Linked DNA regions of Homo sapiens: regions 2, 3, 4, 5, 6 and 7 are each linked to region 1. The links are contacts of gene promoters, found by promoter capture Hi-C in human tissues and cell types (Jung and others, 2019). All regions are on one chromosome and are shown on one strand. Each heading gives the region's core, a stretch centred on a gene start or on the middle of the fragment in contact. The rest is flanking DNA. Distances are from core to core; before and after follow the strand shown.

The links. Contacts are between HindIII fragments. The study calls those that stand out against the background at their distance.
Region 2: a fragment that was not itself captured here is called in contact with the fragment with the promoter of MPPED1 in region 1 in 4 of the 25 tissues and cell types used here (H1 embryonic stem cells, dorsolateral prefrontal cortex, liver and 1 more).
Region 3: a contact is called between a fragment that was not itself captured here and the fragment with the promoter of MPPED1 in region 1, in 5 of the 25 tissues and cell types used here (liver, neural progenitor cells, pancreas and 2 more).
Region 4: a contact is called between a fragment that was not itself captured here and the fragment with the promoter of MPPED1 in region 1, in 3 of the 25 tissues and cell types used here (H1 embryonic stem cells, dorsolateral prefrontal cortex and lymphoblastoid cells).
Region 5: a contact is called between a fragment that was not itself captured here and the fragment with the promoter of MPPED1 in region 1, in 4 of the 25 tissues and cell types used here (IMR-90 fibroblasts, dorsolateral prefrontal cortex, lymphoblastoid cells and 1 more).
Region 6: a fragment that was not itself captured here is called in contact with the fragment with the promoter of MPPED1 in region 1 in 2 of the 25 tissues and cell types used here (dorsolateral prefrontal cortex and lymphoblastoid cells).
Region 7: a contact is called between a fragment that was not itself captured here and the fragment with the promoter of MPPED1 in region 1, in 5 of the 25 tissues and cell types used here (H1 embryonic stem cells, IMR-90 fibroblasts, bladder and 2 more).

What each region holds. Positions count from the first base shown.
Region 1 is chr22:43,410,479-43,413,927 of GRCh38, forward strand. MPPED1 (metallophosphoesterase domain containing 1) reads left to right here and starts at 1,536. Exons shown (of 7, transcript NM_001044370.2): 1 at 1,536-1,680. The HindIII fragment of the contact is 18,974 bases long and covers 1-3,449 here.
Region 2 is chr22:43,219,120-43,222,577 of GRCh38, forward strand. SCUBE1 (signal peptide, CUB domain and EGF like domain containing 1) reads right to left here. Exons shown (of 22, transcript NM_173050.5): 13 at 2,054-2,170; 14 at 1,331-1,468. Among named protein-coding and RNA genes, the nearest start is that of SCUBE1-AS2, 8.2 kb to the left of the region's middle. RefSeq lists an enhancer at 1,128-1,629. The HindIII fragment of the contact is 3,980 bases long and covers 1-3,361 here.
Region 3 is chr22:43,611,264-43,614,717 of GRCh38, forward strand. All of the region lies in intron 21 of EFCAB6 (EF-hand calcium binding domain 6), which reads right to left. Among named protein-coding and RNA genes, the nearest start is that of EFCAB6-AS1, 97 kb to the left of the region's middle. The HindIII fragment of the contact is 4,342 bases long and covers 1-3,454 here.
Region 4 is chr22:43,627,366-43,630,864 of GRCh38, forward strand. The region is part of intron 19 of EFCAB6 (EF-hand calcium binding domain 6); the gene reads right to left. Among named protein-coding and RNA genes, the nearest start is that of EFCAB6-AS1, 110 kb to the left of the region's middle. The HindIII fragment of the contact is 3,448 bases long and covers 474-3,499 here.
Region 5 is chr22:43,665,546-43,668,842 of GRCh38, forward strand. It overlaps EFCAB6 (EF-hand calcium binding domain 6), which reads right to left. Exons shown (of 32, transcript NM_022785.4): 17 at 1,559-1,727. Among named protein-coding and RNA genes, the nearest start is that of EFCAB6, 150 kb to the right of the region's middle. The HindIII fragment of the contact is 4,657 bases long and covers 1-3,297 here.
Region 6 is chr22:43,644,776-43,648,000 of GRCh38, forward strand. The region is part of intron 17 of EFCAB6 (EF-hand calcium binding domain 6); the gene reads right to left. It also overlaps the pseudogene YWHAQP2. Among named protein-coding and RNA genes, the nearest start is that of EFCAB6-AS1, 130 kb to the left of the region's middle. The HindIII fragment of the contact is 5,358 bases long and covers 1-3,225 here.
Region 7 is chr22:43,249,039-43,252,269 of GRCh38, forward strand. All of the region lies in intron 6 of SCUBE1 (signal peptide, CUB domain and EGF like domain containing 1), which reads right to left. Among named protein-coding and RNA genes, the nearest start is that of SCUBE1-AS1, 25 kb to the right of the region's middle. RefSeq lists a silencer at 2,517-2,705. The HindIII fragment of the contact is 6,663 bases long and covers 1-3,231 here.

The DNA.
Region 1 (3,449 bases), core at 286-2,785:
CCTCGGCCAGCCCTTGCCCCCCATCTCTGGCCTGAGGGCCCCAGGCCTCCATCCTCTCCCTCCATAGCCCAGCCTCTCCCCCTCTACCTCTGTCTTTAGAGGTGCCAGAACAAGCTGTAAAAAGATAAACGTGACCAAGTCACAGCCCTGCTTAAAAACCCTCTATGGCTCCCACTGCCCCTGATAAAGTCTATCCAAGGCTCTTCCCGATCTGGCTTCTGTTCCCTCACTCCCAGCCTTGCCACCTCATCTTCCCTCCCTTGCTTTTCCTTTGTCTCTAGCCCCAATGAACTCACATGCCAAGGCCTTTGCATGCCGCATTCCCTCGGCCTGGATGTCTTTTCCAGGCCTTCTCTCCTGGCATACACTCATTCAACTGGGCTGTCCCCACCTCCAGGAAGCCACACCAGATAGCAGTCCTCAGGGGCAGAATAGGCCTGAGGGGCCCGCAGAGGGTGTCCTTGGGGATTGTGTGATGTGTGTGTTGGTGAAGGGAGACCCTACAAGCATTTGTTGAGGGGCTTTGGGCCTCTGAGGAGCCACAGCCCCTTTTCATCTTCCTCTCAGTCTGGGAGGCCCAGGCCAGAGTGATCTGCACCCTAACTATACAAGGCCCTGGAATCCCCGTCCCACCCGCGGCAAGGGGCTGGAAGCCACAGGGCCTTAAACTCCCCAGGGTGACCCCCGACACTGAAGGCGATGGTCTCTGCTCTTCCCAGCAAGGCAGGGCCTCTTTACACTGGGTGTCGCGCCGTCTGAGTTCCTGACTTGTTTACCCATCCCGTTGGGGCTCCGGCCGCTGCAGGCTACCTGCTGTGCCCGGGATTGGGGACCTGTGACTCCCGAGTGGAAGAGATGGTGGCCCAGGAGGAGGACCCCGACCTATTCAGACTGGGAGCTGGGGTCAGAGTGTCTCCGTCTCCGGAGGGGGACCTTCCAGACCCCGGGCGGGAGGGGCCCACAGCAGGGTGCCCCGGCGGCCCCAGGAGGGGGTCCGGGCCTCGGGCGAAGGCTGCGGCGCCCCGGAAGGAGCCGCGCACGCCCCTGCACGCGGTGCCCGCTGCGGAGGCCACGGATCCGGAGGTGAGAGCGCCCCCGCCCCGCTCCCTGCCCAGCCCGCGCGCGGCCCGGTCCGGGGCTGGGGGCGGGCGCCAAGAGGGGCGCCGGGCGCAGTGGGGCGGCCCCCTCCCTTTTCCGCAGCGCGGGCCCCGCTCCTCCTCCCGCGTCCAGGCCCGCGGCCGCGCTCCCTGTCCCTCCGCAGCGGGATGCGGACTCCGAGCCCGGGCGGGGGCCGAGGGCCGAGGCCTGGCGGGCCTGGCGGGGGCCCCGGCGGGTGGCGGCGCAAGGGCCGGGACCGAGGCCGCGAGCGCGCCCCTCCCGGCGGCCGGGCGCGGAGAGGCGGGGAGGGCGGGCGTGGGGAGGCGGGCGGCGGCGGGCGGGGGGAGCCAAGGAGGCTCGGAGCCTCGCGGCGCGCGGGCGGGCGGCGGAGGGGGCGCGGGGAGCCCCCCGCCCCACGAAGGAGGAGTCTGGCTCCCACTTGCAGCCTCGGACGCGCGGCGAGGCGGCCGCCGCCGGAGGAGCCCCCGCCCCTGCGCGCCTCCCTCCCGGGAGCCCCTGCCTCCCTCGGTGCGCGCTGCTGCTCGCAGCCGCCGCGGCCGCCGAAGAGGAGCCCGGGGCCAGGTAGGACCGGAGGCGGGCGGGGCGCGGCGGGCGCGGGCGGGAGGCCGGGCGCGGGGCGCGGCCGGGACCCTCTCCAGGCGCTGGGCGACGCCCGCGGCGCTGCGCAGGGGCGCCCGCAAAGTTACTTTGGCCGCCTTTGCCGGGTGCGGGAAGCGGGCTGGGCACCCCAGCTGCCCCGCCTGCCTAGCGGGCGGCGGCGGGAGGGGGCTCCGCCAGGGCGCGGGACTCCGGCTGGGGCCGCGGGGTCAGCGAAACTTTTCCCTTGCTCGCCAGTCGCTGCTGCTGCTGGCGGAGTAGCTGGTGGAAGCAGCGGGCTGGTGGAGTGCCAGTGATGATGATAGTGGTAACAATAGCAGCCCCCGCTTGTAGAGAGCCTACTGTGTGCGCTGCCAAGCCCCTGCTGGCACTTGGGGGGGAAGAGATAGGGAACGAACGCTGGCCGAGTGGCCACTTTTGCTAGGTATTGCTGGAAACTTCATCCATTTCCTTCCATCCATTCATCCCTCCCTCCCATCCATCCATCCATCCATCCATCCATCCATCCACTCACTCAACACATATTTATTCCTGTCTGCTATGTGCTCGGCCAGGGGATTCAGTGGCTACCTAGACAGGTCCCAGCCCTCAAAGGGAATGTTGATCATGGAATGCCCAAACTAAGGAGCAGTTCTGTCTCCTGTGTGTTTGTTCTGGGACATGTTACGGGAGCGTGAATTCATGCTGTCTCCCTTCACCCTGGCAGGGCCAGAGGCGTGTCATTCAGAGCACTGATGTGCCCAGGAGTCTGGCAGGCCCCGGCCTGGCCTTCGGAACTCACCCTGCTCCTTTCCCTCCCACCTCTCCGGGCTCAAGCTGGGTGGCCCAGTTGGTGTCAGGAGGCTCCACTCCGGAACTGGCCCCCACCCCTGTCCAGCTGACCTCTCTGGGATGTCTCTTCCCCAGTGCTGGGCTGGCCTGGCTCCCAGCTCCCCTCCCAGAGTTTCTTTGCCTTCCCCCTCCCCATTTCCCCTGCTCTATTGAATGGCCCAGAGGAGAGCTTGTTAAGTGGCAAACAATTATGAAATTAAACTGGGGGAACAAAAGTGGGCTGGCTGTTGAATGGCGGAGCTGGCTCACGGGAGTTGAATGGCACTGGGAGACTTGTTAGCAGGGATCTGCGGCGCCGGGGGGCGGGGGCGGGTCAGGCAGACAGGCACTGTCAATAATCTGACTGGACTTTGCAAAAAAAAAAAAAAAATTAAACCAACTTGGTGAGAAACCTGGCACAGGGCGATGTTGGAGAGGCCACCAGCTGACTGCCACGTCCAGTCGGAAGCCAGATCTTGGTGTACAGGAGCCAGGGCTCTAAGAGACTATTTGGGGAGGGTGCTGATGGATTCGGCCGGGCTGAGGCAGGGGAGAACCTCAATGCGTTTGAGCTTGTGGTGCTAGGGAGGCATTCTGGAGCCAGGCGCAGTCTGCAGGGGCCCTCTGTGTGGGAACCACGCATGATAAACTGCGCTTCACCGTGCTGGGCTCCTTGCAAATTGGCTTTCTGAGTGGCAGCCCCACAACACTTGTAAAATCTTTTTCTGGAGATGGATTTCGGTGGAATGGTTCCATCGATTCTAGTGCTTGCTCACTGGAGGTACATTAATTGGGCGATGGCTAGTCAAAAGGCGATAATCCAGTCACGGAGGCTTAATCGTGTGTTCGGAAGTGTTTCAGTGTGGGACTGCCTTCCTATTTATTTCTCGGCCCCAGGAATTTCGGAAGACCTGGATTGAATG
Region 2 (3,458 bases), core at 122-2,621, 190 kb before region 1:
ATCTGATCCCTAATGCTGGGGGTGGGGCCTGGTGGGAGGTGTCTGGGTCATGGGGTAGGTCCCTCATGAATGGCCTGGTGTGGTAGTCAGTTCTTGCTGGCTCTACTAGTCGCCACGAGATGTGACTGGTGAAGACATAGGCACCCCCTCCCCTCTCTCTTGCTCCCTTACTCTTGCTATGTGATGCCAGCTGCTCTTCACCTTCCTCCGTGAGCAGAAGCAGCCTAAGGCCTCGCCAGGCAGATGCTGCTGCCGTGTTCTCGGACAGCCTGCAGAGCCGAGAGCCAATAAGCTCTTTTCCTGATAAATTATGCAGCCTCAGGTGTTCCTTTTAGCAACGCAAATAGACTAAAACATTTCCTTTTTTTTTTTTTGAGATAGAGTCTCACTCGTCGCCAGGCTGGAGCACAGTGGCGCGATCTCAGCTCACTGCAATCTCTGCCTCCCAGGTTCAAGCGATTCTCCTGCCTCAGCCTCCTGAGTAGCTGGGATTACAGGTGCCTGCCACCACACCTGGCTAATTTTTGTATTTTTAGTAGAGACAGGGTTTCACCATGTTGGCCAGGCTGGTCTTGAACTCCTGAACTCAAGTGATCCACCCACTTTGGCCCTCCCAGACTGCTGGGATTACAGGCGTGAGCCAGTGTGCCCAGCCAGACTAAGACATTTCCTAAGCCCTCCCGTGGGGGGCAGACCTCAGTTCTATGCATTGTTTGTTCTTGTGCCCCCACCACCGAGAGTCCCACCTGGCAATGGGTGGTTTGCACGTGCGTCTGCCTCTCTGGCTGAGAGTGTTACCTGGGTGGGGACTTTTCTTTCCACAGCGCCCAAGCCCACAGCCAGGCCCATACCACACTTATCTGCTGACAGATCCCATCTCTTCAACATCAACGACTCACAGGTTGACACTCACATATAGCCAAGAGCAAAGTGCTGCTGTGACACCCGAGCCAGCATTAGAACCTCCTTCAGGAACCAGGAAAGACAATCCTTGGCTCAACCATTCTAGGGGGGCTGCACCTATTTGTCCTCCCGGGTCCCAGCAGGAGTGTGGAGGGGCAGATAAGGGTCATGTGACTTTTGAGGTCACCTCGGCTCTTCTGTCTCATTGCCCTGGGCTGCCTCTTCTATCCTGGGCTGCAAGCGTTGACCCCTGCCAGCTCCCTTTGCTTGTGGGCCTGCCTCTGTCTCCAGAAGCTGGGCTCCCATCCCAGCCACAGCTGTGCTCTGGTGGGAGCCTAGCTTCATGCCTGGCAGGCCCCCGGCAGCGCCACCAGCCTGTCGTCCTCCTTCAGGCCTGCAGAAGCCCCCAGGAGAACCCCTCACCTACCTGAGGCCTCTTCCATCTTTGTCTCGATCTCAAACTCTGCTGTGATGTGGGACACCTCCTTGGATGGGGACTTGCGGCCACGGCGCCTCTTCTTGGAGGAGTCACACTTGAGGGTCACGAAAGTCACATGGCAGTGGTCTGGACGAGGAAAGGACCACTGTGGCAAAGGCGGCATGGGGCAGGGAGCAAGGTCCTACCAAGCCCTGCATACAGAGTGCCATTGGCAAGGACTTCCTGGTCCGTGGTGCAGACGGAAAAACTCAGGCTAGAGAAGGTCAGGGCTGGCTCGGGGTCTCAGGAGGGGCTGGTGGCTGAGCCAGGTCTCACGCCCGGTCCATCACGCTGCTGCAGGTGGAGGCATCTCATACATATTCATGAATGAGGCTGTGCCCCCAGCTCTGGGCCTGCTGAGGGTTTGGCCAGTGCAGACTCGGCTCTGGGCAGAGCCTGCTGCGTGCTGAGAGCTCTGTTAGGTTTGAGAAGGAATCTTCACGGGGACAGAGCTGGTGCCTTCCTCCGGGGCCCCTCGTACCAAGCTTGCCCTCCGCTGTTTCCCCAGCCTGCAATGTCCTTGGAAACTCTCATTCAATAAACAGCTGCCAGGTGAGAGAGACCTCCACCCTTGGAAACCAGACTCGCTGGACCCTGGGGCCCCAGCTCCCAGGCATGAGGACTCTCCTACAGCCCCGTTGGTGTGGGTTAGGAGCAGGGCGTCCCACTCACCCAGCAGCGGCTGCCTGGCGGTCTCCTTTGCTCGTGCCTGGCTGTGGGGCCGGAGGTGGCACTTGGCATCTCGGATCTTGAAGCGGGCCTTCTGTTTGATGGGGGTGGTGGGGGCATCTGGGGAAAGCCAAAATTCCCCCAGGTGGTGGCCTCTCCTGCAGGCAAGGAGGTGGTGGGGGACGGGGGCTGCCAGGGGACAAATCCATCTGGAGCTGGGGGTGGGGCTTGATCTGAGTCCCTGTGCCCCGACAGCTCTCCTGGGGTGGGGGACCCTCTCCTGCCCCATTTCTCTCCCTGCAAGGCCTAAAACAGGTGAACACATGGATGGTGGGGTCAAGCTCAAGCCCAGGGGCCACCCGCCAGAGGTCTTCTGAGAAGGAGGACAGGGATCCTCCTACCTCCTCCCCATCAGCAAGCCATGATTGTGCTTTAGGAAAGAGCGTAGAACAGAAGAGAGATAGGACAGCAAGGAAGGGAAGGGGCTTTGAAATACTATAGATCCAGGACTGCCGGTTCCTTGCAAGAGCAAATCATAGCCCTTGGACTAAAGAATCCTACCACCACAGGTGCTTAGAATCAAATCACATATGCATTAAATATATAGAAATGGGCAGGGTGCGGTGGCTCACGCCTGTAATCCTAGCACTCTGGGAGGCCGAGGCAGGCGGATCACTTGAGGTCAGGAGTTCCAGACTAGCCTGACCAACATGGTGAAACCATGTCTCTACTAAAAATACAAAAATTAGCCAGGTGTGGTGATGGGCACCTGTAATCCCAGCTACTCAGGAGGCTGAGGCAGGAGAATTGCTTGAACCTGGGAGGCGGAGGTTGCAGTGAGCCGAGATCACGCCACTGCACTCCAGCCTGGGTGACAGAGCGAGACTCCGTTTTAAAAATAATAATAATAATAATAAAGAAACATACAGAAATGCACCTATCTATCAAATCCAGCATCCTGAATAAGAAAAGCTGCTGAAGACACAACCCTCAGCTCCTTAGCTGGCAGGAGCTAAGGCTGGCTGTGCCATGCCGACCAAGCCCAGCGGGTCACTCCCAAAGGGCTGGGACTGTGCTGCACCTCGGCGCTTCTTGGCATGCTCTGCACGGCCAGGCCAGCTCTGACTCGGGAGAACCTAATAGCCACAGCAGATGTGGCTTGCTCCACCCATACAGTCTGAGATCTGTGCACTCACAGCACGTTAGAGTCCCTGAACCACTCTGGCTGTGACCTCAGAGCCGGAAGGGCCCTCCCACGGTCCCCTGACCCTGGGCTAGAACTCGGCCTGCAGCCTGCTGGCTTCTAGGTCCTGGGCCTGGCTCATCGCCAGCACCCCAGGCCACACGGAGCAGGGCCGAGAGCAGGAAGGTCTTCCCTGGGCGGTGCCCTTTCCTCCCCCGCCAGCAT
Region 3 (3,454 bases), core at 738-3,237, 200 kb after region 1:
CAAAATACCTTGGAATATAGCTAATCATGGAAGTGAAAGTTTTCTACAATAAGAATTACAAAACACTGCTCAAAGATATCAGTGATGACACAAACAAATGGAAAAACATTCCATGCTCATGGATTGGGATAATCAATATCATTAAAATGACCATACTGTCCAAAGCAATTTAGAGATTCAATGCTATTCCTGTTGAACTACCAATGGCATTCTTCGTAGAGCTAGAAAAAGCTGTTTTTAAATTCATATGGGACTAGGCGTGGTGGCTCACACCTATAATCCCAGAACCTTGGGAGGCTGAGGTAGGCAGATCGCTTGAGCCCAGGAGTTCAAGACAAGTCTGGGAAACATGGCGAAACCCTATCTCCACAAAAAATACCAAAAATTAGCTGAGTGTGGTGGCACATGTCTGTGGTCCCAGCTATTTGGGAGGCTGAGGTGGGAGAATGGCTTGAGCCTGGTAGGCTGAGGTTACAGTGAGCCAAGATCACACCACTGCACTCCAGCCTGGGTGACAGAGTGAGACCCTGTCTCAAAATAAAATAAAATAAAATAAAATTCATATGGAACCAAAAAGAGTCTAAATAGCCAAGGCAATCCTAAGCAAAATGAATAAAGCTAGAGGCATCAAGTTACCCAATTAAAGTATACTACAGGACTACAGTAACCAAACAGTATGGTACTGGTACAAAAACAGACACATAGACCAGTGGAATAGAATAGAGAGCCCAGAAATAAGACTGCACACCTACAACCATCTGATCTTCAACAAAGCTGACAAAACCCAGCAATGGAGAAAGGATTCCCCTATTCAATAAATGGTGCTGGGATAACTGGCTAACCATATGCAGAAGATTGAAACTGGGCCCCTTCCTTATAACAAATACCCCTTCCTTATAACAGAAAATAAACTCAAGATGAATAAAAGACTTAAACGTCAAACTAAAAACTATAAAAACCCTGGAAGACAACCTAAGCAATACCATTCTGGACATAGGAACTGAGAAATATTTCATGACGAAAGAAAAAATTGACAAATGGGATCTAATTAGATTTGACAGCTTCTGCACAGCAAAACTATCAATAAAGAGACAACCTACAGAATGTGAGGAAAATTTGCAAACTATGCATCTAACAAAGGTCTAACATCCAGCATCTATACGGAACTTAAACAACCCCATTGAAAAGTGGGCAAAGGACATGAACAGATACTTTTCAAAAGAAGAAATACATGTGGCCAACAATCATATGAAAAAAAGCTCATCAGTGATCACTAGAGAAATGCAAATCAAAACCACAATGAGATACCATCTCACACCAGTCAGAATGGCTATCACTAAAAAGTCGGCCAGGTGTGGTGGCTCACACCTGTAATTCCAGCACTTTGGGAGGCCAAGGCGGGTGGATCCCCTGAGGTCAGGAGTTCGAGACCAGCCTGGCCAACATGATGAAACCCTGTCTCTACTAAAAATACAAAAAAATTAGCCAGGCATGGTGGCATGCACCTGTAGTCCGAGCTACTCAGGAGGCTGAGGCATGAGGATCACTTTAACCTGGGCGGCGGAGGTTGCAGTGAGCCTAGATCATGCCACTGCACTCCAGCCTGGCAGACAGAGTGAGACTCCATCTCAATTAAAAAAAAAAAAAAAGTAAAAAAAAACAGATGCTGTAAAGTTGCAGAGAAAAGGGAACGCTTATATACTGTTGGTGGGAGTGTAAATTAGTCCAACCATTGTGGAAAGCAGTGTGGCAATTCCTCAAAGAGCTAAAAACAGAACTACCATTCGACCCAGCAATCCCATTACTGGGTATATGCCCAAAGAAATATAAATCATTCTAAATATATAAATATAAATATATTTATATAACATAAATATATAAATATCATATATAAATATTTTATATAATTTATTTATATAACATATATATTAATATATTTGTTATAGAAATATATTTGTTACATAAATATATTCATATCATATATTTATACAGCAAATATATTCATATCATATATTTATATAACACAAATATAAAGATACATGCACGGGTATGTTCACTGCAGCACTATTCATGATAGTGAAGACATGGAATCAACCTAAATGCCCATGAACGGTAGACTGGATAAAGAAACTGTGGAATATATACATCATAGAATACTACAAAGTCATACAAAAGAATAAGATCATGTCCTTTGCAGGAACATGAATGGAGCTGGAGGCTAACATCCTTTGAAAATTAATGCAGGAACAGAAAACCAAATTCTGCATGTTCTCACTTACAAGTGGGAGCTAAATGATGAGAACACATGGACACAAAGAAGGGAACAACAGGCACTGAGACCTACTTGAGGGTGGAGGGGGAAAGGAGGGGGAGGATTTGGAAAGATAACTATTGGGTATTAAGCTTAGTACCTGGGTGACGAAATAATCTGTATAACAAACCGCCACGGCATGAATTTACTTATATAATAAACCTGCACACATATCCCTGAACCTAAAATAAAAGTTAAAGAAAACTACAATACCATTTACATTAGCACCCCCCAAAATGAAATATTTAGGTATAAATCTAATAAAATATTAGCCAGGAATGGTGGTATGCACCTGTTATCCCAGCTACTTGGGAGGCTGAGGTAGGAGGACCACTTGAAGCCAGGAATTCCAAACCAGCCTGGTCTTATTTGCAAGAGCTCTTATATGCAAGAGCTATATAATGAAAACTACAAAACTCTGACGAGAAATGTTTAATGTTTGCAAAACCTAAATAGAGACATTCCATGTTTATGGATAGGAAGGCTCAATAGCATCAAATATAGGTTCAATTCAATCCAAATCACAATCCCAGCAAATTGTTTGGTAGAGATCCATAAACTTATTCTAGATGCAAAGACTCAGAATAGCCAACACAATACTGCAAAAAAAAAAAAAAAAGAACAAACTTGGAGAACTGACACTACCTGATGGCCAAGATTTACTATAAGGCTACAGTAATCATGACAGTAGTACTGGTTAAAGAAAAGACAAGTAGACCAATGGAACACAATAGAGAGTCCAGAAACAGACCCACATAATCAACATACCCTTGACAAAGGGGCAAAGGCAACTCAACAAAGCAAAGACAGTCTTTTCAATAAATGGTGCTGGAACAACTGGACATCCACCTTTAAATAAATGAATCTAGACACACAGACCTTATACCCTCCACAAAAATTAACTCAAATGGATCACAAACCTAATTATAAAATACAAAACTATGAAACTCTCGTAAGACGGCATAAGAGAAAATTTAGATGACCTTGAGTTTGGCAGTGACTTGTTAGATACAATCCATGAAAGGTTCTAGTCCCGACCCTTTCCTTACCCTGAACCTAGAGGGCTGCTCTGAAAGTGGGCCACACAGAGCTCCAGTCTGTGGGATTGGTTGGTGTGGGCCAGCGCAGACAGTCCACTCCATA
Region 4 (3,499 bases), core at 948-3,447, 220 kb after region 1:
GCCACTTACTAGCAACGTGACCATGGGTGAGATAACCTTGTGATGCTTCTGTTTTCTCATCTGTAAAATGGGGACTATGACAGTCCCTGCGTCCTTGGGTTGTTTGTGAGGAGTGAATTTGCTAATGATGCAAAGTGCTTAGAACGAGCCTGGCTTTCCTGGCATTCTAAAATGCTGTTTGTTGCACTTGCCATTTGCCTAGGATCATACAGCAAGTGCAAGGCTCTGCCCGGGGCCAATGCCTGTTTCCCACATGCACCTGCTTCCCGGGTCTCAGGCCTGAAAAGTTGATGTGGCCCCAACCCGCCTCGTTCCATCGGCACCTGATGCAGCCCCTCACCTAGGAGTTACCTGGCTGCTCTGGCGGCATTGCGCTTGTCCCCTCTTGTTACAGGCTCCTCCCACAGAGGTTACTTAGGATATCAAGCAAGACCTGCTGTGACTCAAGTTCCTCATGCAAGTGTGTGGGGATTTTGTGGAAAGCTCTCTCTGTATTCACTCATGTATTCATTCACCAAAAATTATTCAGTACCTAATATGTGCAATCGCCATGCTAAATACTGTGGAAATGAATTTAAAAGATGCCGCCCCTGCCTCCGGAAGACAATACAGTGTGGCAGGGAGGCTGATGTCTAACTCTGCCCGAGGGGGCCTCCTGGGGTGCAGGCCCATCTGTTTCTTGATGATTCCCTCTATACTCTCAGCCCCAAGCCGCCACCCCCCTGACCCACAGCCTCACATCTCCAGTGGTCTGGGGGCATTTTCTCTGGGATGTCAAACTGAACATGGCCCAAATCAAACTCCTGACCTCCACCCCCTGTCCCCACCCTACTCCTCCTAAGTCTTCCCATCTCAGTAAGTGGAGCTCTTTCCTCCTGGTTGCTCAGACACAAACCTGGGAGCCCTTCTGAGCCCTCGCTTCCTCTCACACCCACATCCAGTCTGCCCACACATCCCGCTGGCTCTCCCTTCAGAGTGCATTAGCACTGGACCCCCTCTCCCAGGCACACCACCTCGGCCCCCACCCAAGGTCGCTGGAGTCCTGCAGGAACCTCGTGATGGCTCCCAGCTGCCATCGTCGGCTCCGTGGCCTCTGCTCTGTGCAATCGCTCCCGAGCGATCCCTTACAGCTGACGTCATGCATGAGGCGCCTCTGCTCAACCCCCTTGACTCTCCTTCTCACTCAGAGTCCAAGGCCAAGGCCTGGCCGTGGCCCACAAGCCTGTCTACACCCCCATCCCACCCGTCCCCTCACTGTTCTCTGAACAGGCCGAGCCTGCTTCAGGGTATCGCAGGGAGCCCTCTCCAGTGTCCGCAGGGCTCACTCTGGCTCCTTCATGACTGTGTCTGAGTGTCCCCTCTCCAGAGAGGCACTTCCTGACTCCTCTGTACAATGGCACCAGCCCTGACTGGCCTCCCACGATCCTCTACTTTTCTCTTTGGCACATGTCACCACCTGATCTAGTAGAGGTTTCTGTGTCCACTGCACTTCCCCCTAGAACATAAGCATGAGTCTGGGCTCTGATCTGTTCCCTGTTGCAGCTCCAGCTCTCCGAGCCATGCTCACCATAACGTCTGTGAGATGGGGCTGCTGGACATGAAGGAGCAGCATTTCCTAGGCACAAAGCACTCTGCTGGGTACACAGACACCATAACTGCAACGTGGGCCCTGACACCCAGGTCCTCACTGTCTATCTACTAGGGAAGCAAGACAGGAAGCAAATCATGGCAATCCAGCGTGATTACTGCAGGGACAGAGGTGTGAGGGCCAGGTGGGGCCAGCCTGGATTCTGGACTCCAGGGACAAGCTAGATGCTATGAGATCATACATGGCTAATCTTCACAAGTTTATAAACTAATCATTCCTCAAATCTCAGTCTTCAGCTTCCCCAATGTTAGTGCGTAGTACAGAGGCTTTGGAATCGAGCCGGTGTTATTTCAGTTCCTGACGGTGCCATGTACTAGAGGTGTGGCTTTGTGTCACTTTTTCCCCGTCTCTGACCCTCAGGGTATCCAGCATAACACGGGAACATTAAACCTACTTGACAGGGTGGTTGCGGGTGTCAGAACACACAAGGCCCTGTGTGTGGCCCTCCAGTTCGCTGCCCAGCATCAGGTGTGGTGTGTTCAATCAGCAAATACAAATCGGTCATGTGCATTGTGGCAGGCACTGTGGCAGCCCCTTGGGTTACTGTGGTGAATGATGTAGAAATGGCTCGGGGCTCACTGTTGAATCTAACTGCAGCACCCTGCGGGCTGTGTGCTATGAGGGACGTGAGGAGAGAGGGGAATGTGCAGTGGCAACCTCTCAGCTGATGTGAAGGGCTTGAGAAGGACAGAAGCTTGGGGAGGAGTCCACTGGTCAAAGGGGAGGCGCCATCCAAGCAAAGGAACAGAATGTGCAAACGCTTAGAGGCAGGAAAGGGTGAGGGGGTGAGGGGTCTTGTGGGCCGGCCAGGCGGGAGCAGGATGTATCCTGAGAGCACAGTGGGCACTCCGGTCAGAGATGCACATGGATGAGACAATCCTGCGAGGGCCAGGAGTCCAAGACGAATTGTGAAGTGCAAAGTGAAGTTGCAGAGAACTGAGTGTACTGTGACCCTATTTGTGGGTTGACAGGTTAATCCTATTTGTTTCTAAAAGATATATGAGGCCAGGGACAGTGGCTCATGCCTGTAATCCCAGCACTTTGGGAGGCTGAGGTCGGAGGATCGCTTGAGCCCAGGAGTCTGAGACCAGCCTGGGCAACGTAGCAAGACTTCGTCTCTACCAAAAAAATTCAAAAAAAGTGACTGTACCATCCCATTAAAAAATTGAGACCCGTGCTTTGTCCACTTTGCGTATACCTGCAAGGACACAAGCCAAGTCCTCACGAGCCCCGGACATAACCCGCATCCAGTCTGTCTCACATAAAAACTGGCAATTAGGGGTTCACTCCTCTGTTTCACCCACTAGTTGATAAATTCTCTGGCGGGATAGAGTGGGTGTCGGTGATGGTCTGTTGAATGAATTCATTATTTAAAATAGAGATCTCTTTGGAAAACACAGGATATACGTTGGCTGTAGCCAAGCTTCACTGATCGTAAAGATAGGAAAGCAACGATGTAGCGTGGAGCTGGGCTTCCCACGGCCTCCACTGGGAGACGCGAGGAGTGTGTGAGGAAGAGAGGAGAGAGTCTGAGAGAGGGAACAGGGAGGGGCCTGCATTGCAATGGGCAAGGTGCAGTGAGGCAGCTGCCAGGCCTCTACAGTTAGGGTGCCCGTGGAGGCCCTGCCGACCAGCACAGAAGGGAGTCTGCTCCTGGAGCCTTTGCCTCCGTTCTGCTCTCTCTCCCTGCAGCGGCCGCTGCCTCCCACCCAGCTCGGCTCTCCTTTGGAGGACCAGGCACTCCCCACTTAAATGACCCCTGCCTCCTCCACGCTGGAGCCCACAGGCCAGTGGTTCCCAGAGTGCTCCTCTTGGCTGGCCACTTAGCCTGGATGAGATCATTAGGACCAA
Region 5 (3,297 bases), core at 758-3,257, 260 kb after region 1:
AGGACCCGTGCCACGTAGCTCAGGGTGAAATAAAATCTAGGACAAAGGGCCCTGCACGGGCAGGGATGGATGGAGTCAGATTGGCACTCGTTTAGTTTTCAGCCCCTGAAATTCAGCTCCCATGGCTACCACTCACTCCATTGAAACTGCTCTAATCAAAATCATCAATGACTGGTTATCGGCCACCTGGTCCCCAAATCAGAAATCTGGGAATGACTTAAAACATTTCCTCTGCCTTATTCCCTTCTTTCTTTCTTTTTGAGACTGAGTCTTGCTCTGTCACCCAGGCTGGAGTGCAGTGGCACGATCTCAGCTCACTGCAAGTTCCACCTCCTGGGTTCCAGCAATTCTCCTGCCTCAGCCTCCTGAATAGCTGGGATTACAGGCGTGCGTGACCACACCTGGCTAATTTTCGTATTTTTAGTAGAGATGGGGTTTCGCCACGTTGGCTAGGCTGGTCTTGAACTCCTGACCTCACGTGATCCACCTGCCTTGGCCTCCCAAAGTTCTGGGATTACAGGCGTGAGCTACCACACCTAGCCTATTCCCTTATGTCTTATGTCCTATCCCTCATTTCCTATCCTCAACTCCTTATTTCTGAGTCCTTCTTGAATCTATTCTCCTGGCTCTCCCCATATGCTCATACAACAAAGGACCCTCCACGTCTTGTCTTGTTCTGGCTGGGGAGGGGAGAGGGTCTGGACTATTTCAGTAGCTACCTAATCCCATTTCTGTGCCTCTAGCCCTGCTCCGTCCTCCAGTCCATGCTCCTCCATGATGCTGCATTCTGGAGGCTTAGAAATAAGACCCATAAAAAGCCCATTCCAATGTCCGGCAGTGGGGCAGGCACCGGATGAAGGGGCCACTAATGTAATTATACTCTTCTTGGAAATATATTTTATTGCCTTCTTCTAAATTTGTCCACATGGACACTGCTACATATTAACTGAAATGCTTTCCTTAAAAATAGCTGAGGATGATTAGCTAGAGGGATCGTAATACGAATTTTAAGCAATCATTTAAATTAATTCCTGAGAAGTCTATGCAGAACCCTTCAAGCTGAGCCCTTTCTGGCAGAAACTCACCAGTTCCCATAAGCACATGCAAATCAGCACTCTGAGTTTCCCATATTTCACTGCCAGATTGTTTTTTTTTTTTTTTTTTTTTTTTCATTCTAGAGGAACAAACCATAGCTCTGTGATTGGAAACTCTCCACTGGCAGGCAGGGGCCGAGTGGCTTTGTACTCTCACCCGCAGGCTGCCCAATGATGCACAGTGCCAGGTATGCAGCAGATAGCCAAACCGCATCAATAAATGCTTCTGATATGTAAAAGCTTAAATATCAAAAGCTGGCCACATCCATATTGAAAGTATTCTCTAAGAAATGTGCCAATGACAATTTTTTGGCCAAAAAAAAAAATCCTTTTAAATTGTTGAAAGATGCCTAGAAATGGATCTGCTGCGTCCTGGGATAAGCCATTGTCCTTTAAAGTATGTTAGTATAAGAAAACAGCTGAACTTCTGCAGGATAGAAACAAAGAGAAACCCATTCTCCTACCTTCTTAAAGTCATGCACGTTAATTTTTCCATTAGGCTCCTTGCTGAAGTCAAGAAATCGTTTTTTGAATGCCGGGTCCTGCTGCTGTATACACTTTTTGAATTTTTCAATCACTTCTTCTGTGGTCATCTTCTTGGTCAGGGTGGTTTTATCCTCCGTGAGCTTGGTTCTAAAATCACAAGCAGGCATTTAGACCCAGTGTCAACTGACACACGCAGGGTGCTTCCTCCAGACTGCACCCATTTCCATGTAACCCATGACAGTAAGAAGGTTTCCCATCCTCGGTTCACTAGCTGGGAAGGGTGGAGTGACTCAGGGGCTTCTTACCCTCCCCTGGCTGGTAGGTTCCAGGGCCAGAACTGGAGGTCCCCAGCACAGTGTCCAAGTGAAAGCCCATGTACAGTGGCAGGCTGGGGACAGGGGAACTTGCAGGGAGAGAATATTATGGTCCTCGAGATTTTCAGTTATGCTTTGAGCTGGCCGAAGGTGGCATGTGACCGGGCACACAGGGTTGAAAAAGGATATTTTTTGTGAAGTGGAAAAATTAAAAGTCAGAGCCCATTAGAAAGCTTTAAATGAAAGAAATAGGCTGTTTTGTGGTAACTAGATCAAGGAAGTCATCAAACATCCACGGAAATGAAGGGAAGTCCACAGTTACTCCACAAATCGGCTTGATTTATAAAATACAAATTGAATGTGCTGTTCTGTGAGTCTCAGCGTGGATGTGTCTGAGCATGTGGGCGTGGGTGTTCGGAGGACAGCTATTTCCTCAGCTCTCTGGAAGTCTCTTGCGCCCCATATTTTTGGGGAAAAAACAGCCCTGAGACAGTCATGGAGAATGGACTTCTATTCCTTCCCCGCTGCGTCTCCTGATTTTTAAGAGCTCTCTGGGAAAGCTACATTTTATGAAATGTTTAATTGCCATTGCTTCTTTCACCAGTTTTAGGAAGCAAACATATCTTATCATGGAATATTTAACCCGTCTCTTAAAATACCATCTTTATGCCCATTTATAAAGCTGCTACTACTGAAAAGCCCAGGTATTCAAATTTAATTAGCATATCATTAAAATATTCCCATTGCTCTTTACTTAAGAACTTTTTAAAAGGGCTATGACAAAGTGAAGTCTGCTGAATAGTTCTACATTTTACCTTTCATTATGAATTTATTATAAGCAATGAATGAGCAAGTTAGAATAATATCTTTTCATTAAACTAAACCTGTATTTTTAAAATGAAGAAGAGCTAGAATATTCATCAGGCTAATTTTTTATAGATTTACTAAGTATGTTTTATTGTTACAATTCAATTTGGAAATCAGTTTAATCATTCTATCATTCATATTAAAAAATGTTAACTGATTTAATGGATGTGTGTTGCAATAAATATTAAATAGTGGCAAGGAATCTAAGTTTCTGGAAGAGAGTAAATGTGAATGCAGGTATGTAATAGAGAAGTTACAGATTGTCCCTGGGAGTCAGGAGTCCCAGATTCTTGACCCAGGCCAGCCACTAAGTTTGTGAGCCAAGTCCCCAAACCTCTCAGACATCAGTGTTTTCATTTCTAAATTTAAAAGGTAAATTCAATAATTCCTAAGATCTCTGCTTGCTCTAAAATTCCCTGACTCTAATTACTGTCTTTCTAGTGTGCCATCTTTCTTATTTATAAAATGAAATATTAAAATACTCAGTTGACAAATAGTTACTAAATACCTATTCCATGACAGACACTGTGGTTTTG
Region 6 (3,225 bases), core at 614-3,113, 230 kb after region 1:
TGTGTTTAGATGGCACAGAATGACAAAATGCTGAACCTAAGTGCAAGCTTCAAAAACTGAGACTGAGTAATCTGAACCAGTTCTGCAAGTGACTGTGTTTTGTATTACTGTGAAAATAAGAAAATGTAGTTAATTGCAATTTAAAGAGTGTTCCACATAACTTCTTAATTTCTACATTCCCTCCCTTACTCTTCGGGGGTTTCCTTTCAATAAGCAACTTTTCCATGCTCTTAATGTATTCCTTTTTAGTAGGAATCCGGAAGTATTAGATTGAATGGAAAAGCACTTGCCATCTCTGTCTAGGGGTCACAAATTGAAATGGCTCCTGTATCACATACGGAGGTCTTGTGTATCTGTGGCAACAGGGAGTTTCCTTATTCACTCTTTATTTGCTGCTGTTTAAGTTGCCAACCTCCCTTCCCAATAAAAATTCACTTACACCTCCTGCCTTTGTAGTTCTGGTATTCACTTTACTATGTGATAGAAGTAGCATGTTGCTGCCAGAATACAAGCATTGCTTTTGGCAAATTAAAGTGCATGTCATTTCTTAATACACTAGAAAGAGGAAAAAAAGTACGCAAGTCCAAGTCTAAAACTTTAGTACTTTTCCATGCAGATTTGTGCACATGTGAGAGGGTGTCCAGTTTGTCTAGTGATTGTTATTTAGAGAGTTGGACCACTACTGTGTGTTGCTAATCATTGACTGTAGTCCCAAAAAAGCCTTGTGAAAATGTTATGCCCTATGTAACAGCAGAGTAACATAAAATAAAAGTACATTTTATAAACCATTTACTATGGCTTTGTAACAATTGCATACCCATATTTTAAGGGACAGGTGAATTTACTACTTTCTAAAGTTTATTGATACTTCCCTTTTATGTAAAATGTAGTAGTGATACGTATATTTCCGCATTGTGCATTGTGACACACTTGTCTAGGGATGCCTGGAAATGTATAAAATTGGACTGCATTTCTTAGAGTGTTTTACTATAGATCAGTCTCATGGGCCATCTCTTCCTCAGATGTAAATGATATCTGGTTAAGTGTTATATGGAATAAAGTGGACATTTTAAAACTAAAAAAAAAAACAAAAACAAAAACTGAGACTGAAAGATGAGGTGACATGACCACCTTTCAATGTCAAGGGGAATTCCAGGCATAACTAATGCATTGACCAGACATGTCCATTTTAGAAGCAAAGATCCAGAACCCAGCTTGGGTCTACATACACATGTAAAATCTCAGCGTGTTCTGCGGGCAGTGAATTTAGTACTTCAATGACAGATTTTGAACATGGCAGATAAAAGCAGACAAGTCGTGCCTACTTCAACTTCAGAGGAGACTGTGCTCAAGTCCTGGAGATCAAATCTGTCGTTCAAAGGGTAAGTGGGAAGAAACTCAAAGCTCAGGACAAATGGGCGCAACAGGAAAAGCCGATGCTAAGCAGCCACTTCCCCTGCAGAATCCCAGGGCTCTCTGTCACTCAGCCTCTGCACGCCTTTATGTTCTCTCTTGCTGATTTCAAGAGCAGATACATTTCCAACATATAAATGTAATGTAAGTCCAGTTATGATCCCAGTAATGCATCTGAGGGGTAATTGAATAAAATGATTTTAAAGTCTATATGGTAACATATAAACCTGGCCTGAGAATAGCCAAGAAAATACAAAAAGGAAGAACACTGAGAAAAGACCTGTTTTACTAAATTAAAGAGCCATATTGCATTTATATAGAAATAGATGTATAAATCAGTGGGATGAAAGTTTTCGGATGTAGACCCTAGCATAATGAGAATGTCATAAATGACAAAGGTAATAGTCTAATTCAGTAAGGAAATATAGAAGAAGAGCCCCATCTTACATCGAGTATAAAAATTAATTCCACATGGATTAAGCATCTACATTTAAAAATAAAAATAAATTCTCTGATAAAACAATGGGAAAGAGAAGTTCAGGCTAACTAAAATCAAAGAAATGCAAATTAAAGTAATGACTATAATTCTGACTGATATGTTAGCATATATTAAACTTTTTTATTCTACCCAAAGTTGGCAAACATTTGGAAATTAGTAACTACCAAACACTTGTGGTAGGAATGAATTTGATAGAATCGTTGGAAATGTAATATGGCAATATGCATTAAACATTTAACTGTGCATATTCTTTTGACCTAGACATTTCACTTGTTCTATAAGCAAGAAATTGTAATAATTTCAATGCATGTTCATAGACTGTAACAAATGTAGCATTCTGCTGAGAGGTGTTGTTAGTGGGGGAGGCTGTGCACGTGGGGACAGGGGTATACGGGAACTTTGTAGTTTCCACTAAATCTTGCTATAAACCTAAAGCTGCTCTAAAAACATTCTATACAAAAACAAATAAAATTCTTGTAAGAAAGTCTAGGAGACTGAGGTGGGGGTGGGGGTGGGGGATGAAGGAATAACACCTATTAACCATGGCTACAAACCTAGAATTTATTTAGGGAAAAAAAAGGACAATAGAAATATTTGGTTGTATAAAAACTGAAAACATTGTAATGGCAAAATATGGAACTATAACAAAACAAAAAGACATGATATATTTGGAAAATATATTTGTATTGAAGAAGACAAAGAGCGGATAAATTATTAATTAATTCTACAGATGTTTTGAGCATCTCTGACAGGTTCTATCCAGGAACTGGGAATACAATAGTGAACAAAACAGCCAAGTCCCAGCCCTCAGGTGCCAGGCCCTATTTTAAGGGTTATACATTGTTGTCGGTTGAATTGTGTACCCCAAAAGGTATAATGAGGTCTCAATCCTGGTTCCAGTGAATGTAACCTTTAATGGAGCTGGGGTCTTTTCAGTTGGAATCAAGTTAAGATGAAGTCGTGCTGGATGAGAGTAGTACCTCACCCAATGACTGGTGTCCTTAGAACAAGAGAGAAATTTGGACAGAGGCACACAGAGAGGAGAACATGATGTGAAGACATGCAGACAAAGAAGAAAGAGACCAAAGAGGCCATGTGGAGCCAGAGGCAGAGGTTGGAGCAACGCAGCTACAGGCCGAGGGATGCCGGATGGCAGGCAGCCATTGGGAGCTGGGAGAAACAATGCAGCGTGCTCCCAGAGCCAGCAGATGAGAGCATGGCTCTGCTGACACCTTGATTCCAAACTCCTGGCTTCGAGAACTGTGAAAAAATACATTTTTATTGTTTTAAGCTACCCAGGGTATGGTAATTTG
Region 7 (3,231 bases), core at 228-2,727, 160 kb before region 1:
AGTGGTGGGACAGGGGAGGAAGGACAAGCAAAAGGCAGCCTTTGTCAGGTAGAACCACCCAAGATGGCACCTGGGTAGAGAGAAGAGGATGTGACCCCTGGAGGCAGGGAGTCCAGGAAAGGCTGAGCATGCAGGGCCAGAGGAACAGGCAGAGGGTGGCTTCCAGGAGTGGGTGAATGTGCGGGGTGGGGACTGGGACATAGATTGGTGAAATCAGGGACACCCGGGACCCTGGAGATGGTCGCTGCAGAAGAGGAGGTACGGGCGGGGTGGAGGGGAGCTGGGGTGGACGGGAGCTGGGGTGGAGGGGAGCTAGCGGGGAGAAGCAGGAATGCACATGTCCCGATGAGAAGTGACATTGGCCATGCCGCTCAGGGTGGCTGTGCACTTAAATGATGCTGGGGACAGTGTGGGACACAGTGTGTGCCCCCTAAGTGTCAGCCACCATTTCCACAGTGGCCTCCACTCTCCTCGGTCTTCCCTGGCCTCCCAGTTCTCCAGCCTCCCTGCCTGCTTTTCTCAGGATGAGCAGCCCCTTACCAAGCTCTGGCCTGTGTGCTGGGCCCTTCCATCCTTTCTTTCCCTTCCAGCTCCTTTGAGCCTGGCAGGGTGAAGCAGGTCATGGCCATTTGGGGGACGGGAAACCCGGGGCTCAGAGGGGTGAGGCTGTAGCCCCGTGAGCTGCAGTGGGAAAGCTCCTCTCTTCTCCCCCTGCCAGCAGGACAGTGGGCCCTGAGTGCAGCCACGCGGCCCAGAGGGCTTGGCTGGGGGTGGCCAGGACATAGATGGCGGGATGGCTGGGGAGACAGGTCTAGGGGCAGAAGGGCGGGGAAAAGCCAGGGGAAGCCTGGGACTCCACCTGGCCCTGCCTGCTCACCTGCAGATCTGTCCCTGGCGGCTTCCCTTTCTGGTGCTTTGCACCTCAGTGCCCCAACTGCGTCACACAGCTGATGCACAGTGAGTGCTTCCTACGTGCCTGGCACCGCGCTAAGCACCTGCTACTTAGTCACTCATTTCATCCTCAAATCGATAGGAAGTACACGCTATCACGATCACCATTTTACAGCTGAGGAAACAGGCTGAGGGAAGTTAAAAAATTCGCCTGAGCAAGCAAAGCTTCCAGGGAGTGGACAGAACTGGTACCCAGGCCTTGCTCCATGACCGAAGCTTTTCCCTCTCCTCTGGACGCCTGGGGGCTCCTGCAGGTCTAGGGCCCTGTCTCCCGGGAGATGCCCAGGCAGTGTCTGCTGATCAAGGGAGTCACAGATGCTGCGACTGCTCCCAGGCTTTGTCTGGCACTGGCCTGGGGAAAACTTATGAAGATGGCTCTAATAGTACGGAGGGACAGGGAAGGCTCAGGGGGCCCTGTCCCTGCTGGAACCCAAGGTCCCCTCAGGCCAGGCACTGCTTCTTGGGCAGTGTTCCTCTTTGCTCTGACCTCCATAAGCATCGCCAAGCACTCACTCCTGGCCAGATCCAGAGAGGAGGCAGAGAAGGTTGGGCCTATATCGGACAAGGTGGAGCAGTTCAGGCAGCCAGGCAGGAGCAGCCTCAGGGGTGCGGGGAGAGGAGTTCCCAGCTGCCTTTCTGTGCCCCCATGTCGTCATCTCTAAAACACTCGCACTGCTCTCAGGGTGGCTGTGAGGTTGAGGTAAACACGGGGCAGAGTGCAAGGCCCAGAGGGAGCTCAGGCTGAGGGCCGACTCAGATTGGGGTCCCTAGCCTGCAGCTCAGGCCCCACTGCTCTCATGGGGGTGGTGGGACCCCTGGAATGGGCTGGCTGTGAGTTCTGCTGATGTCGTGCCCACAGGAGGAACATCACAGCCAGAAATGCTACTGGGCCTGCAGAACCGCGTCCCTCAGGCCTGTTCTGCTCCTAACCTGGGGCCCCGGACTTGGGAGTCCACAGGGCTGGGACTTTGGCCCAGGCTTTGCTCACTGGCTATGTGGCCTCCCTTCTCAGGGCCTCAGGGTCTTCATCTGTGAAGTGGGGATAGCTGCCTCCCAGGGCTGTGGGGGAGACTCACTGGAAAGCTGCCTGGAAAGTCCCTTGCAAACTCTAGAGGGGTTGAGCAGTACTGGTGAGGCGAGAGAGCCGGGGCAGAGGGAATGGGCTGAAGATACACCCCCAAGGCTGCCTGAGGAAGAGTGGGTGCCCACAGCTGGGGCAGCCAGCGGAGGCTCCGTGAAGTGGGTGGGGTGCATCCCACATCTTCAGGACTGGTTTCAGAGGAGGCTCATGGTCCTGGGGCTCAGCCAGTGAAAAGGGCAGGTGTGGGCTCTGCCCTAACGGAGGGTTCCTTCAGCCCAAGCAGAACCATCTGTTTTAGGCAGAATAATGCCCCCTTAAAATGCCCACATCCTAATCCCCAGAAACTGTGACCCTACCTGGCAGAAGGGCCTCTGCAGATGTGCTGAAGGACCATGAGACGGGAAATTATCCTGGATTATCTGGAGGGGCCCAGCGTGATCACAGGGGTCCTTGAGAGTAACCGAGGGAGGCAGCAGAGGTGGGTCAGAAACAGAGCTGTGAGGACTGGGGCGGGTCAGGCTGCTGGCTCTGCAGGTGGAGAAGGGACCGCGGGACAAGGAACGTGGGCAGCTCTAGAAGCTGGAAAGGCAAGGAAGGGGATGCACCCCTGGAGCCTCCAGAAGGAAACAGCCCTGCCGACATCTTCAATTTAGCCCAGTGAGCCCCAGGTCAAATTTCTGACCTACAGAAGATAATAAACGTGCGTCGTCTTAAGCAACTGAGATTGCGGGAATCTGTTAGCAGCAGCAAGAGGAGCGGAATGCTCCACCTATCCTAAGCATGCTCCAGGGAGAGGGGCTTGATTGAAGACCTGGAGCTGACCAGCGTGGCGCGTAGCACCCCATCAGCCTTGCCACAAGCAGGGTCCCGGGGCCTGAGGTAAGCTCCCATGCAGCACCCCACGCTGGGTCCTCAGAGGTTTCATGTAAGTCTCCCAGATAATTGAAATTTATCACTTTAACCTGCAAATCCGACAATTTTAACTGATTGTAATGGGAGTCTACAATTGGTTACATGTTCTGGGGCCTCTTTAAAGTAAACATACTTACTCCGTTCTTCACCTGTGCTCAGGGACTGGGGTGACTATCACAAAAAGCAATTGCTGGGTGCAGCCGAGAACCCAGTGGCCCAGGCCGCCGTGCTCGAGGTATTCTCTCTCTCCGGCCACATTCTAGACTTACAACTGCGCCTCCCATTGA